Linked DNA regions of Homo sapiens: all the other regions are linked to region 3. Evidence: promoter capture Hi-C in 16 types of primary human blood cells and fetal thymus (Javierre and others, 2016). All regions are on one chromosome and are shown on one strand. Each heading gives the region's core, a stretch centred on a gene start or on the middle of the fragment in contact. The rest is flanking DNA. Distances are from core to core; before and after follow the strand shown. Region 1 overlaps OR10G8 (olfactory receptor family 10 subfamily G member 8). Region 2 has its middle 7.0 kb from the start of OR6T1. Region 3 holds the start of OR8B12 (olfactory receptor family 8 subfamily B member 12).

Region 1 (3,355 bases), core at 766-3,265, 510 kb after region 3:
TCAGTTCCTATTACCTGAAACAAGATGTCTAGCTTTCAACAAAAAATTATAAGACATGTTAAAAGGTAAGAAAAAAAAGCACAGCCTACTGAAACTATAAAAATGCTAGAAGAAAACCTCAGGAAAACTCTTCTGGACATGGTCTAGGAAAAAATTCATGACTAAGACCTCAAAAGCACAGGCAACAAAAATTAAAATCGACAAATAACACTTATACTAAAAAGCTTCTGCACAGCAAAAGAAATAATCAACAGAAATAACAGAATGGGAGAAAATATTTGCAAACTATGCATCCAATAGGGACTCATATCCAGAATTTACAAAGAACTCAAATTACTTAACAATGAAAAGCAAATAATCTCATTAAAAGGTTGGTAAAGGAAATGAATAGACATTTTTCAAAAGAAAACATATAAGTGATTAACAGGCACATGAAAAAATGCTCAACATCAATAATCATCACAGAAATGCAAATTAAAGCCACAAAATCAGTCAGAATCACCATTATTAAAAAGATAAAAAAATAACAGATGTTAGCAAGGCTGTAGAGAAAAGGGAACACTTATACACTGTTGGTGGGAATGTAAACTAGTACAACCTCTATGGAAAACAGTGTGGAGATTTCTCAAAGAACTAAAAATAGAATTAACATTTAATCTAGCAGTTCCACTACTGGGTATCTACCCAAAGGAAAAGAATTCATTACATCCAAAAGATACCTGCCCCTGTATGTTTTTCACAGCACTATTCACAAGAGCTAAGATATGTAATCTTCCCTAGTGTCTATTTGCTCTGAGAATGTGCTACTTTGTCTTTCAGCTTCAACAGAGCTTTCTTCACCTCCTTGTTCCTCAGGGTGTACACAACAGGGTTGAGAAGGGGCGTCAGCACAGTGTAGAAAACGGCCACAACTCCATCCACAGCTTTCCTGGAGCCTGGCCTCAGGTAAATGAAAAGACCAGGGCCAAAGAAGCAAAGGACCACGATACAGTGGGAGGCACAGGTCTGAAAGGCTCTGTGCTTCCCCTCTGAGGTGCGGATCCGCAGGATGGAACAGACGATGGACACATAGGACAGCACTATCAGGACAAAGCAGCCCGAGGCCACTATTCCAACAGTCACAAAAATGACAGTCTCTATGGCTGAGGTGTCTGCACAGGCCAGTTTCAGGATGGGCGGTGCATCACACAAATAGTGCTGGATCCAGTTGGGTCCACAGTAGGGCAAATGGAAAGTCAATATGGCCTGGACAGCAGAGTGCAGAGAGCCACTGAGCCAAGTGCTGGTGGCCAGAAGAGTACACGAGCGCCCAGTCATCATGCTGGTGTACCTGAGCGGGTAACTGATGGCCAGGTAGCGATCACAGGACATGACCCTGTAGAGGAAACACTCGGTGCCCCCTAGGAAGTGAAAGAAATAGAGCTGAGCCATGCAGCTGTGGAAGGAGATAGCCCTGCCACTTGGGAACACCAAAGTCATCAGCAATTTGGGCACCGTGACAGTGGAGAACCACATGTCAATGAACGACAGGTTGGTGAGGAAGTAGTACATGGTGGTGTGGAGGTGAGAATCCACCCTGATCACCAGCAGGATGAGGAGGTTCCCCAGCACAGTGAGCACGTAAACCACCAGGAAGACTCCAAAGAGGGGGGCGTCCAGCGCTGGGGCATGGGGAAGGCCCATGAGGATGAACGCTGTCAGTAGGCTGGCGTTGGACATTTCTTCTCACCCTTGGTCTCTCTCCCTCTGGGAATATAAAGAGCACCCAGCATTTAGCACTTAATTGAGAAATGAGAATCCATTCTCTGTGTGGAAACTGCATCAAGCAGGTAGATAATTCTGGAGTTATTGTGGACTTTGCTTGTTAACAAAGCTTCCTTCATAAACTAATGAAGTGATTTCCTAGTCTTTCTCTGTCTCACATACACACACACAGAGACATATGCGGAAGAAATTAGGAGAAACGCATTGTCTTAGATTTTAATAGGTGTATAAATTACCACAAACTTAACTGGCTTAAAACATGCAAATTTATTGTCTCGCCCTCTCTGTGGGTCAGGTCAGCTGGGCCCTCTGTTTAGCTCTCATCAGGTTTTAATCAACATATCACCAAGGCCTGCAATCTCATCTGAGGTTGGGGATCATTCTCCAAGCTTCTTGTGGTTGTTGGCACGATTCGGTTCCTTGCAGTTTTAGGACTCAGGTTCCAGTTTCCTTGCTGTTTGTTGGCAGGACACGTAACTCTCAACTTACTGAGGTCACCCTAGGTCCAAGAAAGTCCTAGCTACTTGGCCTTCTTAAAACACCACAGGTTACTTCTTCAAAACCAACGAGACAGACTCTCTCCAGTTTGCTATGGCAAAGTATTACATAATGTTATGTAATGCAGTCACGGGGGTGATATTCCATCATATTAACAGGTCCCAGGCATACTCAAAGGAAGGTTATTAAATGGAAAGCATATACTAGACAGCAGGAATCTTGAAGGCTACTGCAAATTCTACCTACCACATTCATTTTTGCTTCCTTGCTCATGGGAAAACTTAAAAAAAAACACCAAGAATTTAATTGTTAGTGGCTGGGAATATTTGAAAACTGAACAGTTCAGCTAAATCATTTTCTAGTTTCCTCATATGTTATTTGACATTACTAACATCACCTACCTCACTGAGAAGTTATAAGCATTAAATAAGATGATACATATAAAGTACTAAGTACTGTGCCTGGCAGGTAGTAACTGCTCAATAAATGACAGTGAGTCTTATCACATTATGCCTTGCAGCAGTATTACAGAATTTCCAGTTTTGGTCTTAGGAAGAAAGAGAGTACATATATTCTTTCAGTGTTTTCAGAGAGTCCTTCTGAATCTAAGAGCTAGGTCTTCTTGGACTATTTTGTGCCTGATACTGTTACTGATGTCCTCACTACTGCCTGCTTTCAAAGGGCTTGTCCTTGGTCTCTCAGAGCAGGTAAGAATCTCAGCGCAACTCCATAATGGGATTCCCACGACCTCCCAAATGATCCAGAGAGCATCAAGGTTCATGCATAACTGTCCCCTGCCCCCATTTCTGCTACCCTAGAACACTTCCTATGTGGTTCTGAGAACATGGCATTCATATGTGCTCTCCCAAACACAATCCACTGGGTAGAGGCCAGCTGTCTTTCATACTCCTTCTACCCTAGGTTTCTAAATATATTCTAATATTGGCTTTGTTAGATATCATGTGTTGCCTCCACCATCTTCCTTTACTCCTCATTCTCATAAATCCAGGTAATGAATGATCTCACAAAGAAGACAATTCCATCAAGTCTCTCTCTTAATTAAGACCTAGAATCTGAGACAGGAAAAACGGGA
Region 2 (3,489 bases), core at 332-2,831, 590 kb after region 3:
GAGATTCTGGCACGTTGTCTCTTTGTTTTCATTGGTTTCAAAGAGCTTCTTAATTTCTGCCTTAACTTCATTATTTACCCAGGAATCATTGAGGAGCAGGTTGTTCAGTTTCCATGAAGTTGTGTGGTTTTGAGTGAGATTCTTACTCTTGAGTTCTAATTTGATTGTGCTGTGGTCTGAGAGACAGTTCGTTATGATTTCAGGGTTTTTTTTTTTTTTTGCATTTGCTGAGGAGTGATTTTCTTCCAATTGTGTAATCAGTTTTAGAGTAAGTGCCACGTGGTGCCAAGAAGAATGTGTATTATGTTGTTTTGGGGTGGAAAGATCTGTAGATATATATCAGGTCCACTTGATCCAGAGTTGAGTTCAAGGTCTGAAGGTCTTTGTTAATTTTCTGTCTCAATGATCTGTCTAATATTGACAGTATGGCGTTAAAGTCTCCCACTTTTATTGTGTGAGAGTCTAAGTCTCTTTTTAGGTCTCTAAAAACATGTTTTTTGAATATAGGTGCTCCTGTATTGGGTGCATATATATTTAGGATAGTTAGCTCTTCTTATTGAATTGACCCCTATATCAATATGTAATGCTCTTATTCGTCACTTCTAACTTTTTTTAAGTTGCTAATAGTTCTGGGAGTGTTGTGGCAAAATCAATAATACACTATTTTTTAATGTTTATGTTACTCATGTAACAAATAAAGGTATATTTTGATGGCAAAAAGGAAAAGATAAGAAACATTCCACAAGAGCATTTAAACAGCCAATAAGTTATCTTGTTTAGGAGAAGAGATTCAAGAAAAGGATCTGGAATGCTACATACTTTATGTAATTCAACACATATTCTCGATTTGGGTAACATCTTAGAATAATTTAATGCTGCAGTTTAGTTTTTGAGGTAACTCAGTTAATCAGTAGACATTTCAGTTTTTCCTAACCCATTCATATGGATTAACCATATTAAGTAGGCATGTAAAAAATGTTTAAAGAAAATTTTTAAAAATCCACTTTTTAAAAAATAACAATGATACCAAACCCCTCTCAGATTAATATCCTTTTTTTTTTTTTCCTAAGATGAAGTATTGTCACATAGGGGCATTATTTCTCAAGATGAATGTAGATATCATTAGATGTGTTAATGAGCACTCTATTTTGAACTCATTTCTTGTTTCTTGGCTGTTCTATAGGGGAAGCTTTCAGAACAAGTAGGACACCAAAATATCCTCTGGATAAGATGATTATTGTCATAGTTCACAGAAGTCCCTCCTCATTGGCATTTATATTATTTAAGCTTCAGTGAAGGAAACGGAAATGATTTTAGCTATTTTAAGCAAGAAAGAATAGAGAATTAAGTGCTTACAAAATCACCAGGTGTGCTTAGGAAGTGAGTTTTAGACTAGAACTCCAGGATTGACTCCCAGTTCTGTAGCAAGTTGACCCAGCAGGAAAGGTAGAATAAAGGTGGAAATAGTGTGCCCATAGTGCCCAGACCTGTATTTGACACTCTTAAGGCACACTTTATCTAATTCCTGAAAAGGACAGCAAGGCTGGCTCTTCACTGACCCCCTTTCCCCACAGAACATGGATAGTTTTTATTGAACTTACCATTCTATCATATTTAAGAAGACAAGGTTTGGAAATCCTAGAATGACTGAAAACTTTCTTTACACAGATAATTCTCATCAGTGTAACATTGTCCATTATCTATTTTAAGCCATAATATCTTTAGCATATGATGTCCTAAGAGTAGCATAAAATGGCTTCTAGGGAAGGAGAAAAAAACATAATTTAGTGCAAATAAAAATCCCTACTACACATTTTGACATAACTTCACATTTTAAAATTCCAATCAAGGTTAGACAATCATTAATAAAGCTTTTAAATATTCTTTAGATTTTTATTGAATCTCTTTTAATCCAACATTTTTCATTCATTTTACACTTCAGTGCATGCAAAATATTTCAATATAACCACGTCTAGAAAGGTAAACTCATAACAGTTTACAGTATGGTTTTGATGAACTACAAGTTCAACATTTTGGTGGGAAAGGGGTGAAGTACGCAGATAATTTGATAAGTAGATACTTTGAGCTTATTGAATGTATATAAATGAGAAGATAATTTTTATTTGAACTTCTTGATAATGAGCAAGATTCAAATATTTTTTCTCATCTCCGTTGATCACCTGGGTGCAAATTATACACAATTATTTCTCTTAAAGATCCTATGAAACCCATTTTACAGATGAAGAAACTGAAGCTAGGAATTTAAGTAACTTACCCAAGTTCATGCCAAGTATTATATACCATAATTAGTATGTGACTCAATGTTCAATGCTCATTGAAAAAAAAAAAGATTGGATTTTCAAATTAACACTGATCATATATATATATTCAAATATATCCATATATATATGGATATATATACGGATAAATATATATCCATATATATATGGATAAATATATATGGATATATATACGGATAAATATATATCCATATATATATGGATAAATATATATGGATATATTTGTTATAATTTCATTACATCGTCAAGATACCCAAGGCCTCACTGAGTCACTACCTAGCTTAAGAGAATTTCTTAAAGTTCAAATACAGTAACAAGTTTTCTACTACTTCTGTACACAAGAAGTAGCTCTATCTTTTTTTGAAGAAGTACAGTTCATACTCTATGACAAATCTCAAACGTCTCACCCCCTAAAGCCTTGAAGGACTAATTACATTAGTTTACTTTTAGAGAACTTTGGTCAAAGTTATTCCCTTTTGAGATTTCCATTCAAAGCAAGTTAAAGTAAATTTTAATTGATTGGAGGTACAAAGAAATAATCATGCAAATTTATAGTAACTTCTCTTTCAACACTGAGAAGGAGTTTTGCTTGGTATTACTTGAAGCATAAAGAACTGCAGATTCAAGAAGCCTTCTGTGTGCTCCATTGAACATAAACAGGATCCTGATAGAACTTTTGAGTGCACATTCCTCAAACTGGCCAGGGGAAGAAGCCTAAGAAATGCAGTATTGGAACAGGTAAAGGAGATAACTTATATCACCTCCTATGTCAGGCAACTTCATATATCCAAAATTTATTTTTATTCTTGACTTAAAACTGGACTCATTGGAATCAAGGAGTTTTGTTTATAAGTAATTTAAGGCATAAAGATTTAGAGTACTAAAACTATGATACATTTTATTGTACACAGCTATACAATTTCTATTTACTGATGGAAGATAGGAATGACAGCTCTTCATTTATATCCTCAGCTATTGAGTTCTGCACAGATAAACCAACACTTGAGCCCATAAAGTACAGCACTGCATTATGAGAAGCTCTGATTTGCATATTTTGAGTATCCAGAAAATGACCCTAACAACTTTCTTTTTCACTAGGGACTGAGTTAAGAAGCTTCCAGCTTTTGGAAAGTTTATCTTTAAAGTACTCACTGAAGTTTCATGGAAAGATAAGGTTTTACATACAGAG
Region 3 (3,089 bases), core at 338-2,837:
AGCCTATTCTAAATTACAATAGCCCTTTGTGTTAACCTTTCCAGGCTCTAATTGCTTCCTTTTAAAACTTAAATTCATTGAATATTTACTTGTTATTTTCCAAGAGACTGTCAGATCCAAGAAGGCAAGGGCTCTGCTTTATGGATTTCAGTAGCTGTCCTTGGGAGGTAGTTTAGTCTAGCAGCTACATAAGGGGCTTGGAGTCAGACAGACCTAAGCATACCTGTGGACTCTGAAACATCTTGTCTCTGTGAGCAACTTACCTGTAAAATAGGTATTGTGAGAAATAAATAAAGATATGTTTGTATATGTGTACTCTGGATCTTGGCAGCTGGAATAAGGGTACTATGTCAGGTACTAAATTATTGGGTATTCAAGAAATGGTAATGACAATCATTTTTTTCACAATGATTTTCTCTTAATAGTACAGGATACATGTTAGTAGAAAGCCAAATCAAGCAATTCCAAGAGATAAACAAACATTTCTTCTTCTCTAGGGAAACTAATTGCTAAGCAAGTGGTCTTGAGGGAGTCTCTATCTTAATGGCCAGATCATTGAGGTCTGTAATCCAGAATAAAACTCTTTAGTCTTTTGTTATTCACTGGTCAGGAAAAAGCTTTGTCTCCTTCCTGGAAGCTGGAGAGGCCTTTGGGCAAATGAACAATTGGAAGTCATGTCCTTCAGTGCAGGAAGTGTTATGAGATACATTAGAGGTTCTGATCCTTTGACCTGTACTGGGAAGAGAGGGCTTTGAGCTCAGATCTGTCATCTTGTCTTCACTAGGGTCATCTTCCTCCCCAGAATGTGAAAAAGAGGCAGTAGAGTATAGCATTTATGGCTCTAAAGGGAAGGAAGGTGAGTGCCTGCCCCGATGCTGGTCACTTATGTAACATGGTGATTTCAAGTGCAAGCCATTTGAGCCATACTGCCGAAATTCACCTTCTGGCTGCAGGTGGTTTGGGGACTTTTGTCTAGTTATGTCATCTTACTTGTTTCATCTGTAAAATGAAGATAATAATATTGCTACATGGCTCTTCAAACAGAACCTCTTATAGTAACCACTCAATAAGTGTCAGCTTTAAAAAATTATTAAATGTACAGCCACTTGAGCTAAGAGATCTTGGAAAAGCATGAGCTCACCTACTTAATCTGACAGTGTGGACCCAGAGGTGGAAGCTCTGAGCAGAGCCACTGTGGCTTCTGCATCTCAGGATTCCCTTCAGGGAAGAGGTCCAGGTTTTACCAAGTGAAGCAGAGACAGGAGAGGGAAAGATATAGAAAAGGGACTGACCTAAGGATCTAAAAGACATTTGGATTATTTTTGGTACCCCTTTCTTCAGCAGATCCAGCTCTCATTCTGCAGTTACAGTTGAGTCTCATATTACACTTTGGGAGTTATAATCACTCGGACTGTGAAGATAGACCCACAGTGAGTGGTAAAAACCTTCCTACCAAAGTTCAAATCTCTCTCCTTGGATTCCTTTTCTAAGAATGGGAGATAGAGACTAAGAATGTGGTGGTGATGTTTCTTTCTAAGTGGTCCTCTTCTCTTGTCCCCTCCGACTCTCCTGCCTGACCAAAAAGAATGGCAGCCAAAAACTCTTCTGTGACAGAGTTTATCCTCGAAGGCTTAACCCACCAGCCGGGACTGCGGATCCCCCTCTTCTTCCTGTTTCTGGGTTTCTACACGGTCACCGTGGTGGGGAACCTGGGCTTGATAACCCTGATTGGGCTGAACTCTCACCTGCACACTCCCATGTACTTCTTCCTTTTTAACCTCTCTTTAATAGATTTCTGTTTCTCCACTACCATCACTCCCAAAATGCTGATGAGTTTTGTCTCAAGGAAGAACATCATTTCCTTCACAGGGTGTATGACTCAGCTCTTCTTCTTCTGCTTCTTTGTCGTCTCTGAGTCCTTCATCCTGTCAGCGATGGCGTATGACCGCTACGTGGCCATCTGTAACCCACTGTTGTACACAGTCACCATGTCTTGCCAGGTGTGTTTGCTCCTTTTGTTGGGTGCCTATGGGATGGGGTTTGCTGGGGCCATGGCCCACACAGGAAGCATAATGAACCTGACCTTCTGTGCTGACAACCTTGTCAATCATTTCATGTGTGACATCCTTCCTCTCCTTGAGCTCTCCTGCAACAGCTCTTACATGAATGAGCTGGTGGTCTTTATTGTGGTGGCTGTTGACGTTGGAATGCCCATTGTCACTGTCTTTATTTCTTATGCCCTCATCCTCTCCAGCATTCTACACAACAGTTCTACAGAAGGCAGGTCCAAAGCCTTTAGTACTTGCAGTTCCCACATAATTGTAGTTTCTCTTTTCTTTGGTTCTGGTGCTTTCATGTATCTCAAACCCCTTTCCATCCTGCCCCTCGAGCAAGGGAAAGTGTCCTCCCTGTTCTATACCATAATAGTCCCCGTGTTAAACCCATTAATCTATAGCTTGAGGAACAAGGATGTCAAAGTTGCCCTGAGGAGAACTTTGGGCAGAAAAATCTTTTCTTAAGAAAGGATTAGTATTGGAGGAAGGAGATACAATGCTTTGCTTATTAGTGTGTGTTTTCAGTGAGATTCAAGTTCCATTTTTTTCCTGTCTTGTACAGAAAAAGAATTTTAAATCTTTACATTTGGATGAGTGTTAAGTGCAGACATATTCTCCCTGTCTCTGCTTCACCTAGTTATTCCAGGATTTCTTCATTTTATGCAAATTTTTCTATAATCATAGACCATTTAATCGTGAATTGGCCTTACACATTATTTAATCTAGTCTCTTCAATTAACATGTGTTGGAGACTCAGAAATACATATGTTGCTCAAGGACACACAACTACTTGGTGCCACAACTGGGAATGGAATCCAGGTCCTTGAATTCCAGGCTGCTTTTTTTTTCTTTATGTCATTTTTTCATGCTTCATTGCTGCCCTTGCAGATATCCTTTTAAAAGTAAGAAAACTTAACACATTAAAACCTAATTCTATTCATAGTAATTTAATGTGACCTCTCAATAAATAATTTTTAAATATTTCATTTTTTTTCAAGAGGATAGAAGATGAAACATTTTCTTAAGTTGGTCTTC

The links. Contacts are between HindIII fragments. The CHiCAGO score rates a contact against its expected background, and 5 or more counts as called.
Region 1: a fragment that was not itself captured here is called in contact with the fragment with the promoter of OR8B12 in region 3 in 1 of 17 cell types (total B cells); the score reaches 6.5 in total B cells.
Region 2: a contact is called between a fragment that was not itself captured here and the fragment with the promoter of OR8B12 in region 3, in 1 of 17 cell types (erythroblasts). The highest score is 6.0, in erythroblasts.

The regions. Positions count from the first base shown.
Region 1 is chr11:124,027,987-124,031,341 of GRCh38, reverse strand. OR10G8 (olfactory receptor family 10 subfamily G member 8) reads right to left here. Exons shown (of 2, transcript NM_001004464.2): 2 at 708-1,746. The coding sequence starts at 1,719. The coding sequence ends at 784. Among named protein-coding and RNA genes, the nearest start is that of OR10G8, 2.9 kb to the right of the region's middle. The HindIII fragment of the contact is 280 bases long and covers 1,876-2,155 here.
Region 2 is chr11:123,949,141-123,952,629 of GRCh38, reverse strand. No RefSeq gene overlaps it. Among named protein-coding and RNA genes, the nearest start is that of OR6T1, 7.0 kb to the right of the region's middle. The HindIII fragment of the contact is 584 bases long and covers 1,290-1,873 here.
Region 3 is chr11:124,542,152-124,545,240 of GRCh38, reverse strand. OR8B12 (olfactory receptor family 8 subfamily B member 12) reads left to right here and starts at 1,587. Exons shown (of 1, transcript NM_001005195.1): 1 at 1,587-2,519. The coding sequence starts at 1,587. The coding sequence ends at 2,519. The HindIII fragment of the contact is 5,500 bases long and covers 620-3,089 here.